Linked DNA regions of Homo sapiens: all the other regions are linked to region 2. The links are contacts of gene promoters, found by promoter capture Hi-C in blood cells and fetal thymus (Javierre and others, 2016). All regions are on one chromosome and are shown on one strand. Each heading gives the region's core, a stretch centred on a gene start or on the middle of the fragment in contact. The rest is flanking DNA. Distances are from core to core; before and after follow the strand shown.

Region 1 (4,040 bases), core at 1,440-3,939, 570 kb after region 2:
AGAGGAGGCAAGAGCTTTCTCTTGCATTTCCATGTTAACCTTACTACCACATTCTTCCCAGAAAGCCAGGAAATACAATGCCAATGTTTTCCATTCAGTTTATATTTCATGTATAATTAACTTTTGTGTTGAACATGAATAAACTGAAAATTTCTTGAAATAGAAACAATTTGATAGAATTTTGTGGGTACAGTACATACAATCCATGTCCAATAAATTACTGACATCTAAACTTGTTATAGATCTTTTGTTCCATCATGTACTAATTCAGTAATTCTATTGCAATAAAACTAACATTTGTTTGTTATAATTTGTTCTCGGTAAGCCTTTTTCTGTGTTTTGCTTGTGGTTCCATTAGCTTCTAGATGAGCGCTTTTGTATATCTAATTTAGAAGCTTTACATTAAGAACAGTAAGAGAAAATCCTTTAAACTGTATTTCCACTTAAAGTAAGATTATAATAACATATGCTCCACCACATATAGATGTTCACAAAACATAAGCAAGTATGAATATTTTTTCATAACCACTTATGAAGAAATAGCAGGGCTCCTATTACATGTACTGTAACGAATGATAAAGTCATAAACACATACTATGCAAAGTAGCAATAGGCAAATCAGAGAGAGAGAGAGAAAGAGAGCACAATGTTGCTTCCAGAAGACACTGAATTTATTGCTACCACTGAAGAAATTTTTGGAAAGGATGAAGCTTTTTGCTAACGTATACGATAACAACAGCAAAAGGAATAGGACCTGGAATCTTCAGTTGAATCAGTCTATTTATAATCTCGTGTAAGAGGTAGAGAGAAAACATAGGTCATTGCTTTCTCATCATTCATTAATTCACTCACTCATTCAAAACACAAATAGATGCATGCTCTGCTAGACACTGTAGATACAAATGGTTACAACAATCTCTCAAGTTTCTCAAAGCCAGTGGGGGAAATAGGCATATAAACAACAAATATCATGCACTGTCATATTGGACACTTGAAGACTGCCTATTGGACTGTGGGACTACAATATAAGATACTGTCAATTTGTCCTAAGAAGGTCACTCACGGGGGAGTGAAAACTGAATTCCGCCACAAAGGAATAGTCAAATTTTCCAGGCCAGTAGGGAAAATGCTATTCCAGATGGCAGGAACATTGTGAGCAAAGTTAAGGATCAAGGAAAAAATATAAGTATGAAGAGATGAAAGTAGAGGCACGTTGTTCAGTACAAGGGTGGAGTATTTGGTGGAGAGAAATGAGAATTAGGGAGAGACAGACAGGGTCAGATAAAAAATGGTCATGGTCCACATAAAACTAAAGAGTTTAGAATTTATCATGAGACAAATAGGTGTCATTCAAAGATATTATAAGGTACAACATGATGAGATTTGCACTTCAGAACCGCAGCCCTGATAGTGGTTTAGAGGCTGGATTACAGGTGGGGATGGAGGAGCTGTGGTGGAGGCCAGGGTAGGAGAGAAAGGAGTGTGAGGAGTGGTGGGGTGAGTGGGGTGGGGATGGATTTCCTAAAAAGGTGATAGAGGAAGAGAGATTGGGTTGGGACATTCAGAGGTGAGAACAGAAGGAAAAAAAAAAAAAACAGATCTAAAAGGAAAGAGAAGTGATAGGCCTGTGTACCAGTTTGAATAACAATACTACAACTGTTTATCGAGAGCTCATGATGTACCAAACATGATATTTTAATCCTCACTACAATTAATTTTGTAAATTTTTTTATTTTTACTTTTATCAGTTGATATTCAGAGGAGTTAAATCGCTTACTGAAGGCCATGCCAATTTTAAGTGAAGGGATGAGGTTAAAACTAAATGCTACTAGATACAGAGCTGATGTCCTCTCAACTACATTCTTTGGCCCTCTTAACTGGATCAGCAACAGGGGAGAGGGCGGAGACTAGAATAGCTCTTCACAGTTCTCTGGATCTGCTTGGATACTGTCCAGTTTGGAGGAAGAAGATGAATTAAATGGAGATATCTGAGGGATATTCAGGTGCAAAAGATAAATACGCAGTTGGATACATGGGTCTGAAGAAGGTTCCTGGTGACACTGGTTGGTAGATAGACTGAGAGCTGAAATTCACCTGCAGTAATTGTTACTCTGTGTCTTCCTGTTGAATTTATGAGTCAGATCAATATATATTTTCCTCTACCTTTTAAAGTTAGAATTTACAATACCTACCTAATAGTTACTTCCTGCAGAGTAAAAATATTTTGTATTAGTTTTTCATTGGTTGTATTATTTATTAATGATATCCTCAACAAATATGTGTTCATTAACCATTGGGTGCATTGTGCAAATTACACCACACTATTTGATGGAAAGAATGAGGTCTCTTCTTGCTAAATAGTTCTAGTCATCTCCCTTTTATAGTTTCCTTTACTTTGTCTTTAGAGCAATTTATTTTTCTATTCATTATTCATCTTATTACATGTTCTTTTTGGTTCACTTTCTCTAATCCTGTTTTGCAGGAGAAATATTATAAATAAAAACATCTGTATATAACTATAAAGCTTACACTCTCATAGCTCGCACAGAGTTTTTGCAAAAGCAAAAAGATAAAACTTTAGCTCTTTGTAGGTATGATTTTTGAGTTGAGATGGCAGGAAAATTTAGTGAGATTTTGATATAAGAGTAACAAAAGGGAGCCTCTAGGGACAAAGCAGATAATACATTGAGAGTGAACAGAAATTATTTCTCAGCCTGGCTCTGCCATGGCAGTTCTTGTCCCTTCCCTATAATTAATTATTTTCTGGTTTAACTGAGAAAACATGAGACAATCTCAAATTTCCTCAGAGCTAGATTACAATATTCCATTTTATCAGCCCTAGAACAACATGAACAGAAGCTTTAGTGGTAGTGTTATAGTCTATGCTGAGGTTTGTTAGCAGTGCATCATTACCTAAGAGATCGCTGCTTAGTTCAGCCAGTTAACTGGAGCTCACCAAAATGTTCTGCTCTTGAAAGAGAAAGCGGGGGAGAAAGGGTGGGCAGAGAGAGAGAGCAAGACAGAGCTCCTTCACAGAGCAATTCATGTAAATGCATTGTCCAATGGCCCTGAGATCCATTAATTAAATTAATTAGACTTCATAGCATTTGCTGATGAAACATGATGAAAAAAGTTGGAAGAGAATAGGAAACACATACACTGCAGCATCTGGTTTTGCCAGAGTTGGGCCCTTGAGAATTATTAAGTGATAGTTTGACATAATTCAGAATTAATAAAATCTGTCTGCCCCCTGAAAGTGTGCATTTTCATAATTTAAGTAATGCATGCTAATTAGCTTAGATCAAAATGTGAGCTCCATTGTTGCCTACAAGTTAGCATGACTTCATGACTGGTGATATAATAGTATCATCACCCCAGGGAAGGATATTTCTGTGAAATTAAGTAGTATAGTTCTATCTGAAAAATCCTGCTAATAAATACAGGCCTTATTTTGATATTTTGGAATTTTATAGGGAATTAAATACAATACAATAATGCATCCTACTGAGGTCAGACAGCTGAGAAAAACAGGTCAGTCAAATCCTCATTCCTGTGAAATTTACCAGTGGGCTTTTAAAATGGCCAAACGTTAAAGTATCTAGCATGATGCTTGAAATATAATCTGTGGAAATACACTAAACTAAAATGATCTTGTCCAGTCTCATGGTTTCAAATACTAGCCCCATGCTAACGATCAAATTTTGTATGCATTCAAAACTCCTGAACTCAGATTTAGATATCTAACATCCCGACTGGTTTCTTCACCTTACTGTTTCCCATGCCAAACTTCTTTCTTTTCTTAATCCATTTCCCCCACCTTTTCCATTATATTAAACGTAATTAAATAGGGATGTTTGGCTGAGGCTATGAAATTTGACTCACATCACATGCCAAATTCATCACCAAATCCTGTCAACTCTACTTTAAAAATATTTTCAAAGTATGACCACCTCTTACTACTACCACTCTAGTTCAAATCATCCTAGCTCTTTCCTAGGTGACTGCAGTAACATCTCACTACCTAGATCTACCCTTTGTCC
Region 2 (3,705 bases), core at 1,206-3,705:
AAAATCCAGCTGAATGACTACAATGAATAAGACAGATCATAAGGAGTGTTGGTGAGGATGTGGACAAATTGGAACCCTCATACACTCTGGTGGAAATGTAAAATGGGAAATTCACCTTGGAAAGCAGTTGTGCAACACCTTGAAAAGTTACACCCAGAGTTACCATATGACAGTAATTCCACTCGTAGATATACACCCAAGAAAACTGAAAACACACGTTCATACAAAAACTTGTACCCATCTTCATAGCAGCATTATTCATAATGCTAAATACTGTACTGTATTTACTGTAATACAATTACAATTAGTACAATTAAACACTATATTTAAATACTAGAAGAAATCCAAATGTCTGTTAATTGGTACTGTTAAATAAAATGTGGATTATTACTTAGCAATAAAAAGGAATGAAGTAATGAGACATACTACAACATGGATGAACCTCAAAAACATTATGCTAAGTAAAAGAAACTAGATGCAAAGGATCGCATAATGTGTAATTCCACTTACATGCCCAGAAAAGGTAAATTTATAGACAGAAAGTTTTTTAGTGATTGGGGCTGGGGATAGGAAACCAGGACTTGCCTGCAAATGGGCACAAAGTATTTTTTTAGGATGATGAAAATTTTCTAAATTTTCTAGGATGATGAAAATTTTCTAAATTTTCTAGGATGATGAAAATTTTCTAAATTTTCTAGGATGATGAAAATTTTCTAAAATTGGAATGTGGTGATGGTTGTGATTTTCTAAAACAATCATTGAGTTATATCCTTAAGACAAATGAACTTTATAATATATAAATTATACTTCATTAAAGCTGTTAAAAATAGCTATGAAACCACAACGCAGTTTTATGTGTAATTCTGGTTTTTATACATATTATGACAAGACTTTTATAAAGACGGGGCAACCATGACTCCCCAAGACAGTGTGGCAGCGGTCCCCAAAAATCTTAAAGAAGTAAACTCAATGCTTTCGAAGACTACAAAGAAGTGCATCAAAATTTATATTATTCAACAATGATAAGGTAAATGTATTCGGGTAAGAAGCATGGTTACTAACCTGTGTGCCAGTATTTACACAGCATGGGGCCCCTTAGCTTCTGGTCTCTGCTCTGGTCTAGCCATCTTAAATTCCACTGTCAGTTTTATTGTCTTCAAATATTACTTTCATAAGGGGTGCCTCCTGTTCCAAACACAGGACCCAAACCCCTGATTTTGGGAATTCCGGCTCTTTATATTTCTCATGCTGCTTTTTAAAATTTGTAACCAAAGTTTCCAAATGAACCTTCTGCCGCAGTCAGAACCAACTCTTCCTCAGGCTGCATGTATTTGCTAACAACTCACTCACTAGTAGGGATGCCACTTCCCTTATTTTTCTCTCTGAAATTCTGCCCATTGCTCAGGCCCAAATTGAGTCTTACCCATACTGTGAAGCCTTCTCTGAATAATTCATCTCACATTGAGCTGAGCTCCTGAAGCACCTGTGCTCTACAACAGTCATCCGGGCATTAAGAACTGTTCAGAAGTTTTAGTTTAAATGTTCTGAGCCTCATTTGTCCCTGCTCTTGAGGGGCTGGATTTTATTACTTTATATTCCCCTATATGGATTAACACAGGCAACTTAAGAAATAGTCATGTTCATCAACGTTTCCTTGATAAATTCTTTTGTATTTGTTTTAATTAAAAATGTCATTTTTGAAATATGATTGCTGGATTTTTTTGAGAATTTACCCTTACATGCTGATTCTGCTTCAGGTATCTGTAGTATGTTTTGTTCAGCCATTAGCAGATCTGTCCCTGGAATCCCTAATCCACAAATATACACAAAATTTGGGTTCAAGCAACTCTATTTTCTCCTATATCTTTTAATAGATATATTATCTATTATGCCAGGTATGACAATATATAAACAAAAATATCCATATAAAAATTACAATATTACTAAATGTCCTTCTAAATCCACACTTAAGCAACAATAACGAAGCACAGTTTCTTAAAGTAGAAAATGATCTATAGTTAATCTTATTATCTTGCCTCCTTTACCTTTCAAAAATCCACTGATAATCTGGGCATGATGCTTTCAAACTTCACCCTAAAGAGAAAAATGCTCTCTGAACACTCTTCTTCCTGCTGTCTTTAAATTGTGCCTGTATTTTCTCTGCTTTTCCTTTGACACTCAATCACTCCTTTAAAACTTGTAAAAAACCGGAAAAGTTTCTGTAACTCTCCAATCTCCAACTATGTCGTAAAATCCCTTGCCAGTTTACCCAGTCTGCTGGAGAGGCTCACCGTTTCTTTTTCGAGCGAATTACACAGTTGTCTTGGCAGCGTGATTTGCCCTCTGGTTCCTGCTTTATCAGTTTGGTGATTCTTTGTACAGATTGATAACCATGAAAAAGTCTAAAGTAGGGCAGTTCCGGAGCAGCCTTTTCCCATAAAGCAAGCGGGTACCTCACAAAACTCCAGGCAAAAGAATGAATGATAGAGCACTCACCAATAGCGAGTGGAGAAGAGTATTTTGTCGAAGTTTGCAAACCAATCTTTGGGAGCCAGAGGTGGGAATTTTAAAATGAGGTCTTTTCCTTGGAATTTTCTTAAAGTGGTATCGTTGCCTGTTGATATTGAAGTTTGTCAAAGAACGTGAAATCACCAGCTTAGAGGATTTTTTTCCCCTTTAAGAGAGACAAAACGTGCGAATTGATTCTCTACAAATTGTGAGAACTTCAAGAGTGGGGTCATAAAGTATTATCAAATATAATCACTTGGTAACTTTTGTGTCAATGTGGGGAGGAGGTGAAGGTTATTTTAACATGATTCATTTTTCATGATCAAATATCAGATATTAATCACTGAAAAACAGTATTCCCCATTAAAAAAAAGAAATGAAAACTAAGAGGCTAACATTGTTTTCAAAAAACTGTTCTACTGTTAATCTTTTTTCTTTTTTGGGGGGTGTAACTCTTCATATATTAGCAGCAAGTCTTATTATTTGGGCTGACCATTAAACACCGTATCTTTGTTTTTACACAAAATGTGGATTTCCTCATTTTAAGACCAGCAAAAAATTTCTGAGTGCCACGAATTCTTAGGTATTCCGAAACTATCTTAGAAATACATGACATATACCAACCATGCTGTATACCTGAATAGCTCTTGAAGACCAGATTTAATAGATAACTGATAATTTTTATTATAACTCATACCTTGTTTTAAAACCAATGTTTTTTATTTAATATAACTCTGCTTTCTAGGTTATTCGTCTCTATGAATAATTAAGTCAGCAACTGTAAAAACTACTTCATTATAAAGTTAAAGTTCCTTGACAAGGAGCCTCGCAAACTCATAGACAGGCTTTCCACAGAACAAAAAATATCAGCGGTTGTAGTAGAGGATTATACTTTAAAATCTTCATTTCAGAAGGAAATTTGTCATATTAATGAGACACTTTAAAAAGTGTCTTTTAAAAATGTTTCCGAACTATGCTTCCAAGTATTTTTAACAGCATAAAGCCCTCTTTCATGCTATTTCGCTGACATAATAATTTTCGTCTTGAAGAAATACATATTGACGGCCTACTCAGTCAGGCTAGGAAGTGTCATTGTATTTAACTCTCTAAATTGTTCCTGACCTTTTTAGCAATCTTTACTCAAAATAAACCTTGGGTGTTTGAAGGGCAGAGACTAGGTTACGTCCTCCTCATCTT
Region 3 (3,533 bases), core at 509-3,008, 530 kb after region 2:
TTCCTGAGATAAACTCTATTTAGTCAGGATGTCTTATTCTATCAATAAATTGCTGCTGTTGAGTTGGTAGTACTATCTAGTATTTACATATATGTTCATAGTGAGAATTTGGTAGAGACAGATAATGTGTATGTATCTTCTTTCAGTTTTATTGGGATATAATTTACATTCCATGATGTTCACATGTTTAGTGTACCATTTCATGTTTTTAGTATGTTAATACAGTTGTGCAAATACCACCATAATCTATTTTTAGAATATTTTTATAGTCTTAAAAAATAAACCTTGTACCAATTAGCAGTAACTCCCTATTTCCCACTTCTGGATTTTAAACAGTGCCAGAACATAGAGAAAAAATAAACTTTCTAAAAACTTACAGGAGGTTATGAAGTTGTAAAGAAAACAAAAAATTATCCATTAATTGTAGATTTAACAGATCTCATCTATTCAAATTACTTTGCCTTGTAACTTCATATACACATATACATTAATTTTATTGACTTATCAAATATATATAATCTATCAAATTTTCAAATGTATATGAATAAAATTTTATTTAACATTTTATATAATGTTTTATCTATTTTATCTTTAGTTGTATCATTTTCCTCTTTCCTCATAGTAATAGCATCTCCTTTATTTCTGTCTTGTTTATATTTGAAAAACAATTTATTATTTATTTACTAGTGTTTTTCAAGTAAATAGTTTTGGGGATGAATTTTTGTTTCACTAAGTTTGTTTCTTTGTTTGCTTGTTTGTTTTTGAGACGGAGTCTCGCTCTGTCGCCCAGGCTGGAGTGCGGTGGTGCGATCTCGGCTCACTGCGAGCTCCGCCTCCCGGGTTCACGCCCTTCTCCTGCCTCAGCCTCCCGAGTAGCTGGGACTACAGGTGCCCGCCACCACGCCTGGCTAATTTTTTGTATTTTTTAGTAGAGACAGGGTTTCACCGTGTTAGCCAGGATGGTCTCGATCTCCTGACCTTGTGATCCGCCCGCCTCGGCCTCCCGAGTAGCGGGGATTACAGGCGTCCCCACCACGCCCGGCTAATGTTTTTTTTTTTAAAGACGTGGCCTGGTGCGGGGGCTCACGCCTGTAATCCCAGCACTTTGAGAGGCCGAGGCGGGCAGATCACGAGGTCAGGAGATCCAGACCATCCTGGCTAACACGGTGAAACCCCGTCTCTACTAAAAACACAAAAACAAAAAAATTAGCCGGGCGTGGTGGTGGGCGCCTGTGGTCCCAGCTACTCTGGAGGCTGAGGCAGGAAAACTGCATGAACTCGGGAGGCGGAGCTTGCGGTGAGCCGAGAACGTGCCACTGCCATCCAGCCTCGGCAACAGAGAGACTCCACCTCAAAAAAAAAAAAAGTAGATAAAAGCTTATAGAATAAGAATATAACAACAAAAAAATCGTGTATAACAGTACAATGTGTTTTAAGCTACATTTATTATAGAAGAGTCAAAATGTTTAAAAAAACAAAATTATAAAGTAAAAAGTTACAGTAAGCTAAGGTAAATTTATTATTAAAGAAAAAGAAATATTTTCAATAATTGTAGGGTATTCTAAGTGTACAGTATTTATAAAGTCTGCAGTAGTATACAATAGTGTTCTAGGCCTTCACGTTCACTCACCACTCACTGACTCACCCACAGCAACTTTTTGGCCTGAAAACTCCATTCATGGTAATTTCCCTATAAGGTACCATTTTTTATCTTTTACACTGTATTTTTGCAGTATCTTCTCTATATTTAGAGACACAAATACTTACCATTGTGTTACAGTTGCCTACACTATTCAGTACAGTAACCTGCCATACAGGTTTGTAGCCTGAGGACAAAAGGCTCCACCATGGAGCCTTAGGTGGGGAGCGGCCTGTATATCATCTAGGTTGGTGTAAGTCTGCCCATGATGTTCACACAATTATGAAATCACAGAAACATGCATTTCTCACAATGTGTCTGGTATGGTTGGGCTGTGTCCTCACCCAAATCTCACCTTGAATTGTAATAATCCCCACAAGCCAAAGGCAGGGCCAGGTGGAGATAATGGAATCATGAGGGAGGTTTCCCCCATACTATTCTTGTGATAGTAAATAAGTCTCAGGAGATCTGGTGGTTTTGTAAATGGGAGTTCCCCTGCAAAAGCTTCTCTTGCCTGCTGCCATGTAAGATGTGCCTTTGCCTTCTGCCATGATTGTGAGGCCTCCCCAAACATGTGGAACTATGAGTCCATTAAACCTCTTTCCTTTATAAATTACCCAGTCTCAGATATATCTTTATTAGCAGCGTGAGAACAGACTAATACAGTATCCCCATCATTAAGCTAGGCACAACTGTAGTTACTCATTCTTTCTTCCTACTGAATTAGAATGTTCTTGAGGATGAGAACTGTTTGCTCTTGTTTTATTGATTAATTTTTCACTCACTCAGCAGCAGTTCTAGTTTAAGTGCAATACAATAGTGGGTAAAAGTGTACCTGACTTCCGCTCTAATGGAAGTTATAATTTAGAAGTAGAGACATTTATCAAGTATTCATTCAAATTGGTGCATAAACTGAATTTTAATTATATAAAAAGTGGTACTTCAGGGGGAAAAAAAACCTGGCCAAAACTGGAAAGAAGAATGTTGTTAAGGAACCTTTTACTCTTCCAGCAATGTTGGAAAAGAGGTAATTCACTTAAGGATTTTGAGCTTAATCCTAACTTCAACAAGAAGTGGTTAGGTAATATAAAAAGCAGAGAATGGATAAGTTAATTTTTTAGGAGTTTCTTCTGGCTGCCTAATGGAAAAAAATAAGATAAGGGTGAGTGGGAAGCAAAACAGTTTCTAGGAGGTGAATTAACTGGTCATTTAAGTAATTCAAAAGAGGGATGTTGTTAGATTAAAAGAGAATGGTGGTTGTGGACATGTGGATATAAGACAAATTTGAAATGTATTTTTGAAAGAAAACAATGAGACTTGTTAGTGGAAAGAATATGGGGCAGTGTGTCAGGCACAATCTGCTACACACCCAACATCAGAATATCTTTTTATACTTAGCCTCCCAACATCAGCTAGGTATTAAAAATCCACTTGTCTTCAACCCCCTTCTTCTATTCCAGTAGGATTTGATTTTTTTTCCAGCTAATGAGAGTTCAGTAGATCTTAGAAAGGAAATGATACCCTGTCTCAGCTCCAAGGGGTGAACTGTGATTGTCTAATTGAACAGTGCCATGACAATTGAATTCTTTTTGTTTGTGGTTGGTTCAGAGTGGTCATGCAGCCTAATTCTGGAAAGGGGGATATAAGCAAGTGAAAGCTCAGTAGGGTTTCTCTGAAGGTTTTTGCTTTCCAGATAGAAAGTGACAAACTCAACTGGCACGATTCTTTTCCCCTTTTTGCCCATACATGTTTGTTAGTTTCCCATTGCTGCTATTACAAATTACTACAAGCTTGGTGTCTTAAAATAATACAAAAATTAGTGACCTTACAGTTCTGGAGGTCAGAAGCCTGAAGTAGAACCCAGTGAGTGAAATCATCTGGATGTTCCAGCGGA

Evidence for each region. The method cuts DNA at HindIII sites, captures the fragments that hold promoters and counts their contacts. A CHiCAGO score of 5 or more calls a contact.
Region 1: a contact is called between a fragment that was not itself captured here and the fragment with the promoter of TTC23 in region 2, in 5 of 17 cell types (total B cells, activated CD4 T cells, naive B cells and 2 more). The highest score is 11.6, in total B cells.
Region 3: a fragment that was not itself captured here is called in contact with the fragment with the promoter of TTC23 in region 2 in 1 of 17 cell types (total B cells); the score reaches 5.2 in total B cells.

The regions. Positions count from the first base shown.
Region 1 is chr15:99,817,190-99,821,229 of GRCh38, forward strand. It overlaps the pseudogene LOC400464. Among named protein-coding and RNA genes, the nearest start is that of LYSMD4, 86 kb to the left of the region's middle. The HindIII fragment of the contact is 335 bases long and covers 2,523-2,857 here.
Region 2 is chr15:99,247,126-99,250,830 of GRCh38, forward strand. TTC23 (tetratricopeptide repeat domain 23) reads right to left here and starts at 2,456. Exons shown (of 14, transcript NM_001288615.3): 1 at 2,046-2,456. The HindIII fragment of the contact is 13,098 bases long and covers 1-3,705 here.
Region 3 is chr15:99,775,481-99,779,013 of GRCh38, forward strand. No RefSeq gene overlaps it. Among named protein-coding and RNA genes, the nearest start is that of LYSMD4, 44 kb to the left of the region's middle. The HindIII fragment of the contact is 766 bases long and covers 1,376-2,141 here.